Regions from separate parts of the Homo sapiens genome. Here region 1 is linked to region 2. The links are contacts of gene promoters, found by promoter capture Hi-C in blood cells and fetal thymus (Javierre and others, 2016). All regions are on one chromosome and are shown on one strand. The core of a region is centred on a gene start or on the middle of the fragment in contact, and the rest is flanking DNA. Distances in the headings are between cores, read along the strand shown. Region 1 has its middle 6.3 kb from the start of ADAMTS1. Region 2 holds the start of RWDD2B (RWD domain containing 2B).

What was found. Contacts are between HindIII fragments. The CHiCAGO score rates a contact against its expected background, and 5 or more counts as called.
Region 1: a fragment that was not itself captured here is called in contact with the fragment with the promoter of RWDD2B in region 2 in 1 of 17 cell types (fetal thymus); the score reaches 6.1 in fetal thymus.

The regions. Positions count from the first base shown.
Region 1 is chr21:26,849,843-26,853,577 of GRCh38, reverse strand. No RefSeq gene overlaps it. Among named protein-coding and RNA genes, the nearest start is that of ADAMTS1, 6.3 kb to the right of the region's middle. RefSeq lists an enhancer at 670-1,237. The HindIII fragment of the contact is 2,143 bases long and covers 568-2,710 here.
Region 2 is chr21:29,017,203-29,020,944 of GRCh38, reverse strand. It overlaps RWDD2B (RWD domain containing 2B), which reads left to right and starts at 1,596. Exons shown (of 5, transcript NM_016940.3): 1 at 1,596-1,734. The coding sequence starts at 1,668. It overlaps LOC124905005 (a long non-coding RNA gene), which reads right to left and starts at 3,359. Exons shown (of 2, transcript XR_007067836.1): 1 at 2,698-3,359; 2 at 1-2,032. RefSeq lists an enhancer at 1,506-1,755. The HindIII fragment of the contact is 4,408 bases long and covers 1-2,641 here.

The DNA.
Region 1 (3,735 bases), core at 390-2,889, 2.2 Mb after region 2:
GTTTAAAAGAACAGATTACCTGACTCCATCAATTATTATCTGTGTGAGCTAGCCAAACTTCTGCCTCAGTAACTTCATCAATGATATAGGGATATTAATAGCAATAAATCTACATGTGAGCATTAATTAGCTTATGTATATAAAGTAGGCATGGTATATAGTAGGCACTCAACAAATATCAGGCATTATTATTATTGTCACAGCAAAACTGTAGAAAAATATACATTCAATTATAAAGTCATTGGCAATTAGTTCCCTTCCCCTGCCAGCTGGCTCTCTTGAGTGGACTGGAGTTCTTAAGTTAGGAGCGACATAAAGGGTAGAATCAGTCTGGCAGGAAACAGCAGGCAGCCGCTGCTCTGGAAGCCAGGACATGGGACCTGAAGTGTGAGATCTCCACCTACTACACACACAATGAGCATTCCTCAAACCAAATCTCTCTAGATCAGACAGACAATTGAAAGATTCCTGGAATCATTGTTGCTATCCTGGAAATCTCAGCCAGATACCTGACTAGAATCAATATCAGATTGATATTAAACCTGAATGGACAACCACCACCAAGCTTCATAGTGAAGTTGGGCCTGGTTTTGGTTTGGCTATCACCCCTCCAGATTCCCAGAATTTTTACTATGGAGAGAGAGAGAGGTCTTCCAATATGCTATATGTTATATTTACAACATATATTGCTTTCAATATTAGATACATACACTATTGCTTCCATTTTATAAATTTGGAAAATATTTATGAAATATAATTCAGATGGTGTGATGGTTAATTTTATGTGTCAACTTAACCAGGCCAAGGGGTGCCTAGATTAAACACTATTTCTGGGTGTGTCTGTAAGCATGTCGCCAGATGCGATTAACATTTGAATCAGTGGACTCCAGTAGAGTAGACTGCTCTCCCCAATGTGGGTGGGCATGATCCAATCCACTGAAGCTCTGAATGGAACAAAAGGGACAGAGGAAGGAGGAATTTCAGAATTTCCCCTCCTTTGTCTTCCTGCCTGCTTGAGCTGGGACATCAGTCTTCTTCTGTCCTTGGACTGGGATTTATATCATCGACTCCCCTGGCTCTCAGACCTGCAGACTTGAACTAAAATCAAACCACTGACTTTCCTGAGTCTCCAGCATGGTGACAGGAGGTCTTGGGACTTCTCAGCCTTATAATCGTCTGAGCCAATTCCTCATAATCTCATTAAATACATATGTTCTATCTCTCTGAAGAATCTTGACTAATACATATGGTCAGTGTTTCTTAACAAAAGTTCCCGAAGAAATTTTAGACTTTAAGAGGCTAGGAATGAGGGGGAAATGGGGCAGAAGATGAGCAGGACAAGTATCCTTCTGAGGCACCTGCCTCTGCTGAGAACTTTACAGTCTGTAGGCCAAAAAAGGGTGTTCTCTTCTAGCAAGGGGGTGACATCTGCCTCTGCAGGGTCTAGGAGAATCTGGGGCTCATCCATCCAAATGTCTGCATTTTATGTATCAGAATCCCATAGTTTTTCTATTAGGACCCTAACTTTAATATAAAACAACTATAAGATTATACATTTTTAGATTTTCAGCATCGTCTGCTCTCTGATTGCAGGAGATAAAAGTGACTTTTATGGCATGTCTTCAAATTAAGTTAGAAAACGATGTAATCTCTGTATATAATCTCTGTATTTCCAAAATAACCTTCAAAACAGGCACTGGTAAACTTTTTTGAAGGGGCCAGATAACAAATATTTTGGACTGGTGGACATTGCTCTCTTTTGCAATTATTCAACTCTGCTTTGTATTGTGAAAGCAACCATGAAAAATACATAAGCAAATGATTGTGACTTTGTTCCAGTAAAACTTTATTTACAAGAACAGATGGTCAGCCTGAAGGTCATAGCTTGCCAGCCCCTGCTCTGAAGCAACTATCAAAAACCCATCCAATGACATGTTCCTTTCAATTGTTATTTTCCTCATACTGTCTAAGTGCCGCTGCTGCTGCATAAACCTGCTTCTCACCCCATACTACCACCTCATCCCACACAGAGACTCTTTGTCATTGCACTGACACTGCATGCCGGGGGCGGTCCCATTCCATTCACCACCAGCAAACGGGTTCTACTGCCCTCTGATCAGTGAGCAGTCCCATCTAGAAGATCTCCTGATGCTCTTTGTTTTCAACTCAGTTTAGCCCAGAAAGCACAACCTGAGAAAAGGGCTTGTGTGCATGCAGTCCCTGTAGAGGTGGGGAGGCAAGGGCAAGTAAGTTTAGGAAACAGGAGGGGGTAACTAGGAAGGAAGAGACAGAGGAGGAAGCAAATACAATGGTGCATTATCCTTCAAGTCAGGATTGTTGTCATCTCCATTTTACATATGAGGAGGCTGAGGCTCAGGGATGATCCATGGCTTCCCTGAAGCCACAAAGTAAGGATGCAGCAGTCAGAATGCCAGAATTCAAATGTGGATTACGTGGCTCTCCACCACTAGCTCCCAGGGTATTAAGTGCAGGGAACAGGAAGACCCCCAGCCTCTATGCTTAGACATTGTGCCACTTTAGAATAGTGTCCAACTCTAATCCTTTCAACAATCTTGTCCAATTATGTATTTAGAGAGATTGTCTAGGCCTTTCCAATCAACATTTCATGAATATACAAGCCTACCATCAACCAATTACGAGTGTGTCCAGTTCTCAGGGTGACCTGAGAGCCACATGGAACAAGAAAGCTTTCCAGCCAGTGTTTCCAGCAGCAAGCATCCTAACCCAGGCCTCGGAATCTGAAGATACAGTGCTCAAATATCAGTGCTTCTGAGCTACTAACCATTGTAATTGCCCAAGTAGATGGCCAATGAATTGCAATAATTCATAATTCAGTTTTTGGTTATTAATAAGATTTATTGTATCTTACACAAAAGAGCATTATAAAATGATAAATATTGTAGGATAGAGGCTGAGATATAACCAAATATTGCTCTTGATCTTTAGCAAAAATCACTTTCAAAGGACAATTGATTTTCAGCCTCTGATTAAATCCCTGCTAGTGGAAGTGTAGGGAGGTGACCAGCTCCTATCTCAATCAGCCAATCAATAATTATAAGCCGGGTGGGGAAAAAAAGCAGTAGTGAAATAGTTTAAAATATCTTATTCCATGGTCTCAAGTGCCGCCTGCTGACTAAAACTGTCCACTTCCAATTCCAGCACTTATTAAACTAGAGATAATATGTTAATATTAATTTGCTTTAATTAATAAAATATTCCTAGAATATGATTTTAAATTCACATGACATTCGGAAGTCACTTATATTTGCAGTATTCAAGAATTACATGAAGTATGTGCTCATTAAGAGCGATTTTAAATTTTATCTTTTGTCACCACCTGGTGGTAGAACATTTTCTCACTTTTCTTTTTTCATTTTAAGCCTTACGTTGTTGCTAAGGAAAATTTCTAAACCAGGGAAACCAGTTAACCAGTATTGATTGTCAAGTATTAATGTATACTAAACATACTGTATGTACTTAATATCTATTGAATAAATGAATGAGTTTTTAATCTGTTTTAGTGGATTGCAAATGTACTTAATCTTTTCATTTGAATGACAAGAAGTTCTCAAATGTAATGAATAAAAGCGGTCCACAGTATTATTTTGTCAGAGGCAGTTTTCTTTCTTTAAAGTTTAATTGGATTTTTGTTTATGGTAATACAAACACATAATTAAAAAGTAGTTGATTTAAAAACGCATTTTATTATGCCCT
Region 2 (3,742 bases), core at 347-2,846:
TAAAAACTGATGTGTATTTAAGGTATGCATTTCATTTTTACCTTAAAAAATCCTTAATTTGAACTCCAATGATGTGCATTAGAGGTACTTAGAAGCGTACTGTCTGCAGTTTACTTTTAAATGTATGAAAACAGATAGATTGATGAGGTATGTGACAAAGCTGGTAGAGTAAAATTCTGTACTCTCCAGGTCAGTGTTTTTCAACCTCAACACTATCAACATTTTGGACCAGCAAATTTGTTGTTGTCGGGGGATGTCCTGTTCATTGTAGGAAGTTGAGGAACATCCCTGTGCTCTACCTACCCCATGCCAATACCATCCTTCCAGTTGTGACAACCCAAAATGTCTTCAGACACTGCTAAATAGAGGGGAAATCCATCCTTCCCCTTCTCTTGAGGTCTGCTCCACTGTAAAATTCTCTCGACTTCGCTTTACACTTGAATTTTTTCATAATAAATGTTGGAGGAAAAAATAAATTATGACATTGAAAAACGCTCATGAAACACTATGCAGAAGACGTAGTTTATGAAGACCTACAATACATACTGTCGTATTTTTGTTTAAAAAAAAAAAGTGGAGGGGAGACCTAGCAGTGATATTTAGTATTGCTAAATGTCAATGTTTACAAATCTTATCTATGACATTTCTAAAATGAATATTATAAAGTGTATTGCATATAGTTGGATTGGGAAGAAAAACATTTCTAATTATTCTCCTGTCAGCATCTCCTTCAAACTACCCTTTTATTAACAGGGATAGATATGCATTCACACGGTTCCTCCCAGCTTGGTTAATGGGCAAGAACACCTAAGATAGCCAAGGCCACCATGCATCCAGGCTCACATCTCCCTAATTGCCCTCCTCCATGATTCAGGGACAAGGAGGATCACCATCGTGTGGGAAGATACTAGAAATGTAGAATTTGGAACCCCACCCCTACCTACGGAATCCTGATCTGCACTTCAACAGGATCCCCGAACTATTCCTAGGCGCGTTCGAATTTGAGGAACATTAACGGACCAATTCTTTGTCCCTGAAAAGTGCCCGTTATAGAGGCGGCCGCTGGGAAATGACAACGGGGTTGGCATGGAGAGGTATTAAGTAGAAAAACTCCGGCCGGGCACGGTGGCTCAGGCCTGTAATCCCAGCACTGTGGGAGGCCGAGGCCGGTGGATCACCTGAGGTCAGGAGTTCGAGACCAGCCTGGCCAACATGGTGAAACCCCATTTCTACTGAAAAATACAAAAATTATCTGGGCATGGTGGTGGGCGCCTGTAATCCCAGCTACTCGGGAGGCTGAGGCAGGAGAATCGCTTGAACCCAGGAGGCGGAGGCTGCAGTGAGCCGAGATCGCGCCACTGCACTCCAGCTTGAGAGACACAGCGAGACTCCGTCTCAAAAAAAAAAAAAAGGAAGAAAGAAAGAAGAAGAAGAGAACTCTGCGACTGAAAAGTACCTAGCAGGGACAACGCATTCCCTACGTCCTTCCAAGTGCAGACACCAACACCGGCGGACGCGGCTCCCAACAGGCGAGCCCCAGCTTCCGGTCCGCGGCCTTGGACGCGCATGCGCCGCATGCTTTTTTTTTTTTTTTCCGGTAGGTCGCCAGCTGAGGCGGTTTGTAAGTTTTGGGTCGCAGTATGCTAGAATTTTGAGGCTCCCTTCTGATGAAAATTGAGCTGTCCATGCAGCCATGGAACCCGGGTTACAGCAGTGAGGGGGCCACGGCTCAAGGTGAGTCTCGCCTCAGCTAGCGCCAGTGGTGACCGCCACGGGGGTTTCCCACGCTGCAGCGCCCAGTGCAACCCTTTGGGAACGTGCCCGGCATGGCGGCCCCGGTTCCCCTCACTGCATGCGCCCATCGGTCGGCTCGGTCCTCGGCGTTGCTTCCCGGCTTCTGCAGCCCTGCTCCAGCCGGGGACCTCGCCCCGGGGGCAATCAGGGTGCGAGGGCGGCTGCGTGCTGGGCTTTCTTCCTGAGAGCGTCTTGGCTTGGGTCGCGGGGTACCCTGCTCTGTTCTTCAAAAAAAAATCTGCAAGGAAAAGATATTATTCCACTCAGAAATCTCAAGTTTCAGTCTGCGTTCTCTTAAATATATTTTATTTTTTAAAAAAATAATAAAGGCGAGCTCTTACTATGTTACCCAGGCTGATCTTGAACTCCTGGGCTCAAGCAGTCCCCCTTCCTCTGCCTCCCAAAGTGCTGGGATTACAGGCGTGAGCAATCGCGCCCGGCCACAGTCTATTATCTTACAGCATTCGCTGAAATCTTGAATCATAAAATTATCTTGAGGGTTTTTTGGAAGGACTGAAATCTCTTAAGCGAAAATAATTTGGCAGATAAATGACCTGTGACATCACTCCCGTAGTTGTCCGTTCAAGAGTCCCTCCGTCCCGTTCTTCTTTGCTAATCCCATTTCATCTTCGATACCTCCAATTCAATAGCACCCTCTCCCAACTTTACTCACTCCCTGGGAGACTTTAAACAAATATATAGTTCCAAATAAGTGTTGACTCCCAAGATTATATATCTAGCTGAGTCTCTCGTAGACTTCAAAACTATACATCTAACTGCCTGCTAGACCTCTCTATTTAACAGGTGTCTTAGTAGGCACTTCATTACTTGTGTCTAAAACCAAGCTTCAGCTCCCCATGACCATCAACGTCTAAATAAATGGCAGATCCATACTTTCAGTACCTTAAAGCCCCGGAGTCATTCTTCCGTGTCTCATGTAATTCATCTGTAAATCCTGTTGCCTCTGTTCTCTGCATGTATCCAGAACCTGAAGCTCACCAACTTGACCACTATAATCCTATCAAAGCCACCATCATCTCTCCCTAGTTATTGCGGTGTCTATATCTGGTCACCCCACTTTTCCTTTCACTTTTCTCCATAGCAGCAAGTGTGGGGATCTTCATAAGTCAAACCTCTCTTGTAGCTCTTACATGTCAGTCGGGATAAAATTCAAAATTCTGGCCATGCTTTACTAGTCCCAACATAAACTGCCCCACATTTCCTTACTAAACTCTTCTATTCCCCGTGTCCTCAGCTCACTGTGCTCTGGCCAGCTGTTCTAGCACCCTCCTTCCTCAAGGCCTTTGAATATGCTGTTCGCTTTCCCTTGAACACTCTTGGCCAAGAAAAACACATGGCCTCCTTTTTCAGTTCCTTAAAGTCTCTTCCCTACAGTCACCTTAGGAGAAAGGCCTTTCCTGACAATGCTGTGTGCAGTCTCACCCCTGCTGCCTCATTGTTTCCCTTATCCTTGTTTTCTTTTTCAGGTTTCTTCATAGCAGTTATTCACTGGGTACAAAAATTCTTTTTTGTTTTTTTTTGAGACAGTCTTGCTCTGTTGCTCTGGCTGGAGTGCAGAGGTATGATCTTAGCTCACTGCAACCTCCGCCTCCCCAGTTCAAGCGATTCTCCTGCCTCAGCCTCCCTAGTAGCTGGGACTACAGGCGTGGGCGACCACACCTGGCTAATTTTTGTATTTTTAGTAGAGATGGGGTTTCATCATGTTGGCCAGGCTGGTCTCAAACTCCTGACCTTAGGTGATCCGCCCACCTCATCCTCCCAAAGTGCTGGGATTACAGGCGTGAGCCACCACCGCACCTGGGCTGGGCGTATAAATTTGTTTTTGATGTCATGGTATCCTCCCACCAGTAGAGTTGTTTTATTACTTTCATTCATTGTTATCTTAGTGCCAGTGCTTGAACGTAAGTGCTTGAGAAACATTTGTTGA